3 separate regions of the Homo sapiens genome follow, and all the other regions are linked to region 3. The links are contacts of gene promoters, found by promoter capture Hi-C in blood cells and fetal thymus (Javierre and others, 2016). All regions are on one chromosome and are shown on one strand. The core of a region is centred on a gene start or on the middle of the fragment in contact, and the rest is flanking DNA. Distances in the headings are between cores, read along the strand shown.

Region 1 (3,673 bases), core at 1,005-3,504, 220 kb after region 3:
GCTCCAACACCGAACTTCCCTTTAACGGTTTAAAAAAAGGGTCATGAGTGTCAACACAGTTCAGCAGTGTTTTCATGGGAGACCTTCAGGCAGGCAGGAGGACATCCTCCTCTCTGCTCAGGACCACCACGGGAGTTCTAGGCACTCCACCTCACTGTTCTTCAGACAGCTGTGATGTGAGCAGGGGCTAGGCCGGTAATCAAGGGGGCCAGACTGAGCCATGCCACACCCTTCCTCCTAGTCCCCATGCTCTCCTGGGAGCCTGGCAGCTCTGCTTACTTCCGTTTGTGTTTTTTCTTTTGTTCCTTACGTTGCTGTGCTCTTTGGTCCTTCTTCATCCTTGAGTCCACCACCTTGAAATGACCTCTGACTCCAGCTGGCCGGCGCACTTTGCGGCCCACACCTTTTTTGGCTACAACGTAGGTGACATGGCGTTTCTCCTTGCCAAGCCCAGCCTTCTTGTAGAGACTACAGGGGGGAAGAGAAGAGGTTAGAGGCTTGCTTTCTGCTGCACTTTTAGCCCTGTGTACCTTTGTGGTGTCCTCCCATTACCTTCGCAGCTGTGCCACTTTCTCTCGTTCTGAGATGTCCACTGTGTTCACCACGGCTTCTGCCTTCTTCCTGGTCTGCTCCAGCCTCTTCAGCATCTGCAAAGGAACCTGTCAGGTGACCTCTTCCCCATCCCCCCACCCCCACCCCACCCAATCTCTGGAGGCCCCATCACTTACCCTCCTTTTCTTTCTAGCCTTAGCCTCAGCCACCTTCTTGATGGGACGTGCATTGATTTCCCGCCAGCGTTTCCGGTAATGCTCCACCTCCTTCTTACCAACAGGCAACTGTCGTATCCGGTGCTGCTTTTCCTCTTGCACAAACCACTCCGGAAGCTCCCCCTCATCCTCATTAAATGTGTACCTGAGTGGAAAGGACATCTGTCTAATATCCAACATTCCAGGCTTTCTAAAGAAATTACCAGACTGGGCACGGTGGCTCACGCCTGTAATCCCTGCACTTTGGGAGGCTGAGGTGGGCAGATCACCTGAGGTCAGGAGTTTGACCAGCCTGGCCAACATGGTGAAACCCCATCTCTACTAAAAATACAAAAATTAGCTGGGCGTGGTGGTTGGCACCTGTAATCCCAGCTACTCAGAAGGCTGACTCAAGCGATTCAAGGAGAATCAGGCTGCAGTGAGCCAAGATCGTGCCATTGCACTCCAGCCTGGGCAACAGAGCGAGACTCCATCTCAAAAACAAAAAATTACCCATTTACCCACCAGACCCTGGGTCACTCTTGATGAGTTTATGGCCCCTTTACCGGTTGAAGGAGTTATCTATGAGGTCTCTCTTGGCCTTTTTGGAAGAGGCAATAACAGCACCTAGAGCAAGGCCTTCGGGGTCCAGTATCCGATGTTTCGCTAGAGAGGGAAGGAGAAAGGTCAAAGCTCAATTCCCAATACTGAGACTTCCAGTGGTCTTTTCTCATTCCACTGCATACAGAGCTCTCACCTGGGTCCTCAATAGGCACTATCTCAAACCCGTCATCATCTGACTTAGGCCCACGGCTTCGCTTCTTACCACGGAGGGGTTCCCAGCTGTGAAGAGGGGAGGACTCTGAGTGATTCCACCACTCTGTACTACTCAGACCGCACTCCCACGGAATTTGCAAAAATCCTGCCATGCAGGCTGTACCCCAGACCAGTTAAATCAGGATCGTCAGTACAGTATTTTTAACCCTCCCCATGTGCAGCCAAGATTAAGAACCCCCAATTTAGAGAAATGGTTCAAGCCACCGCTTCCTTTCCATCCCTTCTCTCAGCTGCAACTACTCACCTCTCTTCTTCCTCACTGCTAGTACTGCTATCACTGTCTGAGATGCCATCCTTTTCTTCCCCTTCAAGGCCAGTGGCAGCTTCTGTCCCCGAAGAAGCCTCTGTTCCCTTAGGGGCTTCATCTTGGTACAGGGGAGACATTATCTCAGTCTTCAAACAGGAAGGGGGTGTCTGTGGCAGCTGCTGCTTCTGCTGCTGCTGCCGTCCCTTCCGCCGGTTCTCAAATAACAGCTGGGCCTGACTGATCTCCAGGGCCTCATCGGCATCGTCCTCGATCCCAGCAAAGCTGCCCTGTGATAGGAGAACATCAGCTGCCCTTCTCCCAAGGAAGACTCATCTCCCCGCAGTCTTGCCCCCGGCCTCTCCTTACCTTTGAGAACCACAGGTTGGCTTGTTCTTCCTGCAGTACTGCCTTTTCCTCCAGTGGTACCAGCAGTGGATTCTCCTCCTCCTCCTCCTCTTTATCATCTTGCACTTCAGTAAGTCGCATACTGTAGACCCAAAGGAAAGTAGGGGGCTCAGAGACCCAGATTGCCTGGAGCCCTTGCTGCCCTACTCAGGCTCTGGTAGTACCCACCCTAACACTTCCTCAGAGTGGCAGCATTCCCTTTGGTGCACACGTGCCCCTTACCGCTTTTGGTCCCTTAGACCCTGATGTCCCCTGACTCCTGCCAGCTCCTCTGGATCCAGGTCACTATCCAGAGATGTGTCATCACCGTCGTCCTCAACATCTGACACATAGATATCATCCCTTGGCAGATCGGACAGAAATGTGTCTGCTGCACTCATATCCCCTTGTGTTACTTCCTCTAATAACTGAAGTGTAACAGAAACAAAGGTAAACTATTTAAAAGGAAATATACTGTTTTTTTTTCTGTGTCCCTCACCTCAGTCTATGCTCAGCAACACTAGAAAGAACACTGGCAAATCCATTATCCTTTCACAGATGGGAAAGCTCAGATCCAGGGTAGTGAATGGCCTGTTTACAACATCCCGTTCTAGGCTGGGTTACTGATCTATCCCACTCAGCTGTCTTGTCTCAGTGGTATCACAAATAGGTCTTAAGGAAGGTACCTACAGCCCACATAGCACCAAATCTTAACATATTCTACAACACTGGTTTTCCTTTAAAAATTATTCTCAGACAGCATCTCAATCATCTCCTGAGAATACCGTCTACACAGTTTGTTTCCACTGAATAAAAGGGGCCCAGCCAACATACATCCAACAAAACTGTTCCACTTAAACCAATTGTCAGAACCTTTTATTTTCCTCATGGTAAAGATACTAGGCTGGGTATGGTGGCTCACACCTGTAATCTCAGCATTTTGGGAGGCTGAGGCAGGAGGATTGCTTGATGCCAGGAGTTTGAGGCTGCAGTGAGTCATGATGGCACCACTGAACTCCAGCCTGGGTGACAAAACAAGATCTTGTCTCAAAGGAAAAACTCCAACTACTATTTCTTGAGTGTTTATCACATATGAGGGATTACACCTATCTTTTTTTATTCCTCACCAAAAACTCTAGTAGGTAGGTTCTATTATTGTTTTACAGATGAGGAAACTGAGGCAGCAAGGATAAGTGGTAGTCAGCTCAGTCACTTCACAAAGCTCCAGGTGGTAGAGCTGGGAAGGAAACCTGAGCCTGTGTCTGCTCTAGGGCCACCATGCTCTACTGCCCTCCTGTACAACAAAGATGACCTGATTATGACACTCCCACACATAAGCCACAAAAGTTCATTTTGTTTGTGACCCTGATTTTGTCAGGAAAAACATGTTCTTCAGTATTCAGTGGAAGTACCCTAATGCGAGTGCTCACTTGGTCTCAATGAACTAAAGAATGCTGCT
Region 2 (4,153 bases), core at 693-3,192, 190 kb before region 3:
ATGTGGAAATGGAAAAGGACCAAGTTAGAAGAATCTGGACTTAATTCTAAAGGAATCTGGGGAGGCTTTAAAAATTTTAAATAAGGAATTGATGGCAGAGTTATGCTTTAAAAACAATCACTCTGGCAGTATGTGAACAGCAGATTTGACAAAGGAGCCAGGAGATCAGTTAGGAAGCCATCGTAATGGAACATATGAGGCATAATGAGGTCCTAACCCAAGGGCAGTAGCTTTCAGCATAGAACAAAAAAGGGCTATGTGCAAGAGGTATTTTGGATATGAAGCCTGATTAGATGTAGGAAATAAGGATAGAACAGTTAAAGATAACTCCAGAGTTGTAAGACGGACATTTGGGAGAATTGTGATTTCATTAACTGCATGAGAAAGAAAAGAGAGAAGAGGAAGATTACAAATTGGATTTTGGAAGTATTTAACATATTATGGATTTGTTTCATGTGTATCTCCTTTTAATTTCTTCTCTTTCCTTATCTTTGGAAAAATCAGTTCATCTGTAATGTACATCCAAAACTTTCTTATCCTACTCTTTCCTCCACTGGATACTTTGTCCAGGAAATTTATAGATGTTGCATCTGAGAAAACGCCTTGGATTCTGTTCCGTATTTAAACTTATTCCATATTAGAGTCAGTGTTTTAATTGCAAACTATACCATTACATAAATGGCTCTCATCAGGATTAAGGGATGGTCCCTTCCAGCTTTTCATCCTCCTGTGGGAAACCATAGACTCTAATGACCTCCAGAGATGCAAAGGTGATAGGCTAGATAACTGCTGAGTAAACCCTGAGCCTGCTGTGGCAGGTGCTAAGCTTGAGCTGACATCCGAATCCTGTCCAGCTGAGGGGGCAGCCAAGTGTCCTGGTGCAGTAAGTTGATCTCTGATGTAGTTAAATATGACATGCCTACTGTGTGAAAAGCGTTGTCTTAGGTACTCTTCTAGCAAGTAAATGATTCGCTTCTTACCATTGAAGGCCTTACAGTCTGGGTCTTAAGAACCAAATGTATATTGGATTTTAGACTGATTACAAAACAGCATGTCAGGTATGCTTGATCCTTTCAAGTGAAAATAGAAATGTTGAAGGGAAACAGATCCAGAATATGAAAGGGTGGGTGGAGAATTTAAAAGTGGGGATGGAGTTATTGAATAAGGCTGAGTAGTTTAAACTCTGAATTTTTTGTTTATTTGTATTTGTTTTTTGTTTTTGTTTTTGTCTTTTTTTAGAGGCAAGGTCTCACTCCATCACCCAGGCTGGAGTGCAGTGGCCTGATCATAGCTCACCAAAGCCTGGAACCCCTGGGCTCAAGCGATCCTCCCATCTCATCCTCCCATCTCAGCCTTCCTAGTAGCTAAGACTACAGGCTCACACCACCACCACACCTGGCTAATTTTTTAGTTTTTTGTAGAGACAGTCTCACCATGTTGCCCAGGCTGGTCTCAGATTTCTGGCCTCAAGCAGTCCTCCCACCTCGGCCTCCAAAAGTGCTGGGATTATAGGTGTGAGTTACTGCACCCAGCCAAATATTTATTTTTTTAATTGACAAGTAAAAATGGTATATGCAGTTATGTATCACTTAACAAAGGGGAGATGTTCAGAGAAATGCATTCCAAGAATTGTGTCCTTAGGTGATTTTGTCATTTGTAAACATCATAGAGTGCACTTACACAATCCTAGATGGTATAGCCTACTACACACCTAGGCTGTATAGTATAGCCTGGTGCTCCTAGGCTACAAACCTGTACAGCGTATTAACTGCACTGAGTTACTGTAAACAGTTGTAACACAGTGGTATTTGTGTAGCTAAACATATCTAACCATAAAAAGGAACAGTATTTATGGTGTACAACATGATGTTTTGATGCAGGCTGTATATCCCTTATCTGAAATGCTTAGTTATATATCGCTTATCTGAAACACTTCTGTTGGGATTTTATTTTTTGCATTTTGAAGTATTTGCATTATACTTACTGGTTGAGCATTTCTAATCCAAAAATGTGAAATCCAAAATGCTGCAATGAGTATTTCCTTTGAGTGTCATGTTGGTGCTCAAAAAGGTTCAGATTGTGGAGCATTTCTGAAATCAGATTTTCAGATGAGGGATACTCAAGCTGTATATGTATACATTGTGGAATGGCTAAATCAAGCTACTTAATGTGTGCATTACCTTACACACTTTTTTCTTCTGGTGAAAATGCTTAAAATGTACTTTCACAACAGTTTTCAAGTATATATTGTTATTAACTATCACTATGACTATAGTTAACTATAGAGTAGATTTAGTGTACTAGTTAGTAACTAGTACCGTAGATCTCTTGAACTTATTTCTTCTTTCTAAGTGAATTTTGTGTCTTTGACCAACATCTCTCCAATCCCCCCCCCCCATCTCCTAGTTTCTGGTAACCACCATTTTATTCTTTGATTCTATGAATTTAACTTTATTAGATTAAACTCTAGATTTCTTTCTTGTCCTGGGCTCAGTGTCCTCTCGTGTTTATTTCCCCCACCTGGGGAGGGAGAAGGGGCCCTGGCATCGTGATCAATGACAAACATGTCCTGGGCTCCTATTTGATGAGACTGTCTCAAGGAGTTAGCACTATTATCAATGGAAGGCTTCTGCTCAGCTCAGAAAACATTCACCGAACTCTGGTGCAGTGAGGGCCGAGGCAGGTGGATCACTTGAGGTCAGGAGTTCAAGACCAGCCTGGCCAACATGGTGAACCCCATCTCTACTAAAAATACAAAAATTAGCCAGGCATGGTGGTGCATGCCTTTAATCCCAGCTACTTAGGAGGCTGAGGCAGGAGAATTGTCTGAACCCGGGAGGTGGAGGTTGCAGTGAGCCAAGATTGGGCCACTGCACTCCAGCCAGGGCAACGGAGCAAGACTCCATCTCAAAAAAAAAAAAAAAAAAAAAAAAAAAAAGAAGCAGAAGAAAATGCTCATTGAGAATTTATTACATGCAAATAGTATACATAAAAAGAAATAATGGAATAAGTTGACTTATGTTAAGCATACTTAAGATGAGGTAGCAGTGAACTGTGAGAAGCTTCTTAGAGGCAGGAGGATGGAGATAGTTCCTAGAGAATGAGAAGTGAGGCAAGTCATGGGGGAAGAAAAGCTCTTCCACACATGGAGCAGCATGACCAAGAGTGAGGATGCAGGAGGATTTACGGGAGATCCGAGAGGCAGAGAGTGAGGATGCGGGAGGATTGACGGGAGATCCGAGAGGCAGTGAGCACATCCATTTGGCCAAAGTGGAGGATTCTCACAGGGGAATAATAAAACAGGTATAGAGAGTAATTAGGAATAGACTGTGGATGACCCTGAATACTCAGTAAAACGACTGGAATCTGTTTTATTGAAAGCTTATAGGATGAACTTTTAACAGTTGAGATACAACTGGCATACCAGCATCAGTCTTAAAATGGAAATAGTCCAGAAACGAGCAGTGTTCTTTGCAGGAGCATGCCCCTTCAGCGTACTTCCCCTCCTGCTGTGTGATTCCATGTCTCCTCAGCCCTGTGCTATCACTTGCCTTTGCAGGTGCCTCCATTGCTCTTATGGACAAAGAAGGATTGACAGCCCTCAGCTGGGCTTGTTTGAAGGGCCATCTCTCAGTAGTACGTTCTCTGGTGGATAACGGAGCTGCCACAGACCATGCTGACAAGAATGGCCGTACCCCACTGGATCTGGCAGCTTTCTATGGCGATGCTGAGGTGGTAAGTACCTTTAAACAAGCCTCAAGAGAGCAGAGAGAGGGGCTATTCTCCATCCATACTACCTGGGGTTGAAAGTGGAGTGATGTATTGATGATTCCTGATACAGAGCTCTCAGATCTATACTTGCTAGAGAGCAAGAATATTCAAAATGCTGTTAAAGATCAAGGATATAGCTAAGGCCTGAAATACATGGCAGCATAGCCTGGGGTAGGCCAGCAGTTGAAAAAGGGCAGGCAGCAGCCAGAGCCCTCGGTGGAACAGTGCTGAGCCATTACGCCTGTCCTAACTTCTCTGCTTGATCCGTGTCCTAGGTCCAGTTCCTGGTAGATCATGGGGCCATGATCGAGCACGTTGACTACAGTGGAATGCGCCCTTTGGATAGGGCAGTGGGGTGCCGGAACACTTCTGTTGTTGTCAC
Region 3 (4,278 bases), core at 186-2,685:
GTATGAAGGGCTATGGGCACCCACCGCACCTGGCTAATTTTTGTATTTTTAGTAGAGACGGGGTTTCACCATGTTGACCAGGCTGGTCTTGAACTCCTGACCTCAAGTGATCTGCCAGCCTCGGCCTCCCAAAGTGCTAGGATTACAGGCGTGAGCCACCGCACCCAGCCCCATGGAGGTTCTTATATAATAAAAAATAAAAAATCTATGCTTTTGTGCTTTGCATCCATTATCCCATTTAGTCCTCACAAGGCCATTCTATGGTAAGGAAACTGAAACAGGAAAGTAAAGGAACTTGCCCAAGGATACACTAGAAAATGGAACAACCAGGGTTTGAAGCCACCCAGTCTAACTGCAGAGGGCACAAACTTGGACTTCACACTGTCCTGCTTCTCTCTCTCTCTCTCTCTCTTTTTTTTTTTTTTTTTTGAGTTGGATTCTCGCTCTGTCGCACAGGCTGGAGTGCAGTGGCGCGATCTCGGCTCACTGCAACCTCCTCTTCCCGGGTTCAAGCGATTCTCCTGCCTCATCCTTCTGAGTAGCTGGCATTACAGGCGCGCGCCACCACGGCCGGCTAATTTTTTTGTATTTTTAGTAGAGACGGGGTTTCACCATGTTGGTCAGACTGGTCTGGCACTCCTGACCTAGCGATCCGTCTGCCTCAGCCTCCCAAAGTGCTGGGATTACAGGCGTGAGCCACCGCGCCCGGCTGTCCTGCTTCTCTACCTGATATGTCATGCCCTTTGGACTTAATCTCACCAGCATGGGAGTCACTACAAAGCTTTTCAGCAGCTGCCGCTTTGTTTCTCTCCATCTTCTAACGGATTCGGTTTTCTCTTTCGAGACAGCAGAGAGAAAATGAAGAGGGGAGTTTAGCTCCAAAGGGCTTGTCTGATCATTCTCCCTCTCCCAAAGGCCTGTGACTCATCTGAGTCTGTCCCAAACCATCTCTTGCATCTAGGGGCTTAAGTGCACTGTGGCTATTTACATAAAACTTTATTACTTTAAAGCTCTAAGGGCTCATTTTGTGTTTCTAACTTTCCTATGTTGATAAAGCAAATATTAGATCCTTATTTATAAATAGGGAAGACGTTCAGAGAGATTAAACATTTGGGCAATTCACTTCTCTGGCAGCAGTTTCTTTCCCAGTACAATGAGGCAACAACAAAATATCATTCTGGACTTGCTCAGATTTAGGCAGCAATTTGGAAGCAAAGTCAGTTTCATAACTCAGATGTGTCTCCACTAAAACATTATGAGAAACAAAGTCCGGCGCTCTCTAGGCAACCGTGAGGGCTTGAGCACTAACTAGATCTGCTCAAGGGCAAGAGAGGAGCGAGTACCGTGCAGCCACGGAACGGACTTTGCGGGCAGTGGGGACGTGTTTTTGGAGCGAACCCGGTAAAGGAAGTGTGCTACGCCATCAAGGGCCCCCAGTCCCGGGTGCCGCGGGGACAGTGTAGGGTCATTAGCTGTTGAGCCGCCCCGGGCGGGCCCAAGCCTTTGGATCTCAGGTGACCGGCACAGGCGGCCGCGGGGTCCGGAACTGCTTGTTCCGGCAGTGGAAGAGACGCGCCGGCGTTGGCCGCTGCTGCTAGCAGCTTGAACCCCAGGGTCGGGACCGATGTCGGCTTGGGCTGCTGCCAGCCTAAGCAGGGCCGCTGCCCGATGCTTGCTGGCACGAGGCCCCGGGGTCAGGGCGGCTCCTCCGCGCGACCCCCGGCCCTCCCACCCCGAGCCCCGGGGCTGCGGTGCCGCTCCGGGCAGGACGCTGCACTTTACCGCGGCTGTCCCCGCCGGGCACAACAAGTGGTCCAAAGTCAGGCACATCAAGGGTCCGAAGGACGTCGAAAGGAGTCGCATCTTCTCCAAACTCTGTTTGAACATCCGCCTGGCAGTGAAAGGTGAGACCCTGACGGTCACCCAGCACTGGCTGCCGCTGCCCTCTCAGTGCCCGCAGCCTCGCTTGCCTCTCGGAATTGGGCCCACCTAGATCTCCGGCCCTTCACTTTGTTTTCCTTCCCCAGTACCCACCATTGCCCACCTCATAAATCCTCAAAACACCTACCCTACGTTGGAGGTTCTCACTCACTTTTCCAGACGCTGAGCATCTGGCCAGTTTGTCAGAGAGGGAGCTGCTCTTAAGAAGATAAGCCGGTAAGGTAGAAGTGACTTCATCCTAATCTAGCTGGGTACTTAATAGAAACAAGCCCTAAGAGTCAGGGCAGATGTGTGTCTCTCCTGAAGAGACAAATCAACCCCTCTGAAGTCGCCTCAAGTACCTTATTGGTTGTGGCAGGGGCACTGAGTAAAGCTATTACTTAAGTGCTTAGGCCTTAGCTTAGGCCTTAGTTTGCTTCATTAATGTTTCCCCAAGACACATTTCCTTGGAAGGTAGATTTGCAGCCATGTCTTTTCTCCCTTAGGTCGCCACACTGAAAAGGCTTTTTTTCTGTTTAGGGCCAGACATCTGTAGGAGCAAAGGAAAAGTCCTGTAGAAAGCATGGACTTTGGACTGGGCGCAGTGGCACAGCCTGTAATCCCAGGCCAGAGGCAGGCAGATCACTTGAGGTCAGGAGTTCAGGACTAGCCTGGCCAACATGGGGAAACCCTGTGTCTACTAAAAATAACAAAAAAAAAAAAAAAAAAAAACAGCTGGGCATGGTGGTGCATGCCTGTAATGCTGGCTACTCGGGAGGCTGAAGCAGGAGAATTGCTTGAACCCAGGAGTTGAAGGCTGCAGTAAGCGAGATTGCTCTACTGTACTCCATCCAGCCTGGGTGACAGAGCAAGACTCCATCTCAAAAAAAAAAAAAAAAAAAGAGAGAGAAACTGTGGACTTTGGAGTCAGGAAGACTGGTTTCTGTCACTGACTAACCTTGAACAAGTAGCTTAACTTGAGTTTCTCTGAAACAAGGATAATACCCACCTTGAGGTAGTTTATGGTTTATGGCACATCATAGGCATTCAGTTAATGTTAATTTACCCCCTCAGCTCATGCCTGGTATTTGTTTGCTTCCTTTTCTTCAAAATTCTTGATATTAAGTTCAAGCAACTTTTATTTATTTATTTATTTATTTATTTTGAGACAGAGTCTCACTCTGTCACCCAGGGTAGAGTGCAGTGGCGTGATCTTGGCCCATTGCAACCTCCACCTCCCAGGCTCAAGTGATTCTCCTGCTTTAGCCTCCGGAGTAGCTGGGACTACAAGTGTGCACCACCATGCCTGGCTAAATTTTTTTGTATTTTTAATAGAGACAGGGTTTCACCATGTTGGCCAGGCTGGTCTCGAACTCCTGACCTCAAATGATCTACCCACCTCCACCTCCCAAAGTGCTGGGATTGCAGGTATCAGCCACTGCATCCCAATGAAGTTCAACCAACTTGTGTTTATTTTGTGCCAGGCATGCCATTGGTACTAGAAAGATGATGAGATACAGCCCCTACCCTCAGATCACAATGTCATGTGAACATTTCAATAATTATGCACAAAGTGCTGGGCACGGTGGCTCACACCTGTAATCTCAACACTTTGGGAGGCTGAGGCCGGCGGATCACGAGGTCAGATCGAGACCATCCTGGCTAACACGGTGAAACCCCGTCTCTACTAAAAATACAAAAAAATTAGCCAGGCGTGGTGGTGGCGGGCGCCTATAGTCCCAGCTACTCAGGAGGCTGAGGCAGGAGAATGGCGTGAACCCAGAAGGCGGCGCTTGCAGTGAGCCGAGATTACACCACTGCACTCCAGCCTGGGCAACAGAGGAAAACTCTGTCTCAAAAAATAATAATAAAAATAAAATAAAATAAAAATAATTATTATGCACAAAGTAGTAGAGTAAGAGCAGTAATGAGTCCAGGAAGTGTTGTTACCATCTATAACCCTTCTTCATCTGACACAAAGTAGAGATCGCTGAAACCTAGCAGAATGAAAACCATCCCTAAAGACAATGAATTAGAAAGTTCTGGCCAGGCACGGTGCCTCATGCCTGTAACCCCAGCACTTTGGAAGGCCAAGGTGAGTGGATCACTTGAGGTCAGGAGTTCGAGACCAACCTGGCCAACGTGGTGAAACCTCATCTCTACTAAAAATACAAAAATTAGCTGGGCATGGTGGCAGACACCTGTAATCCCAGCTACTTAGGAGGCTGAGGCAGGAGAATCCCTTGAACCCGGGAGTGGGAGGTTGCATTGAGCCAAGATGAGCCAAGATCATGCCACTGCACTCCAGCATGGATGACAGAGTGAGACTCTGTCTCAAAAAAAAGGTCTTTTCTGGCC

Evidence for each region. The method cuts DNA at HindIII sites, captures the fragments that hold promoters and counts their contacts. A CHiCAGO score of 5 or more calls a contact.
Region 1: a contact is called between a fragment that was not itself captured here and the fragment with the promoter of TACO1 in region 3, in 1 of 17 cell types (neutrophils). The highest score is 7.1, in neutrophils.
Region 2: a fragment that was not itself captured here is called in contact with the fragment with the promoter of TACO1 in region 3 in 7 of 17 cell types (non-activated CD4 T cells, total CD4 T cells, activated CD4 T cells and 4 more); the score reaches 7.3 in non-activated CD4 T cells.

Annotation. Positions count from the first base shown.
Region 1 is chr17:63,819,527-63,823,199 of GRCh38, forward strand. It overlaps FTSJ3 (FtsJ RNA 2'-O-methyltransferase 3), which reads right to left. Exons shown (of 21, transcript NM_017647.4): 14 at 2,458-2,642; 15 at 2,197-2,317; 16 at 1,828-2,117; 17 at 1,504-1,589; 18 at 1,313-1,412; 19 at 729-912; 20 at 553-647; 21 at 1-468. The coding sequence ends at 276. Among named protein-coding and RNA genes, the nearest start is that of PSMC5, 6.1 kb to the right of the region's middle. RefSeq lists an enhancer at 299-1,498. The HindIII fragment of the contact is 6,337 bases long and covers 1-3,673 here.
Region 2 is chr17:63,407,952-63,412,104 of GRCh38, forward strand. It overlaps TANC2 (tetratricopeptide repeat, ankyrin repeat and coiled-coil containing 2), which reads left to right. Exons shown (of 28, transcript NM_001394998.1): 22 at 3,560-3,735; 23 at 4,047-4,153. The region is part of intron 2 of LOC105371856 (a long non-coding RNA gene); the gene reads right to left. Among named protein-coding and RNA genes, the nearest start is that of CYB561, 36 kb to the right of the region's middle. The HindIII fragment of the contact is 2,236 bases long and covers 825-3,060 here.
Region 3 is chr17:63,599,460-63,603,737 of GRCh38, forward strand. TACO1 (translational activator of cytochrome c oxidase I) reads left to right here and starts at 1,436. Exons shown (of 5, transcript NM_016360.4): 1 at 1,436-1,904. The coding sequence starts at 1,625. The HindIII fragment of the contact is 11,259 bases long and covers 780-4,278 here.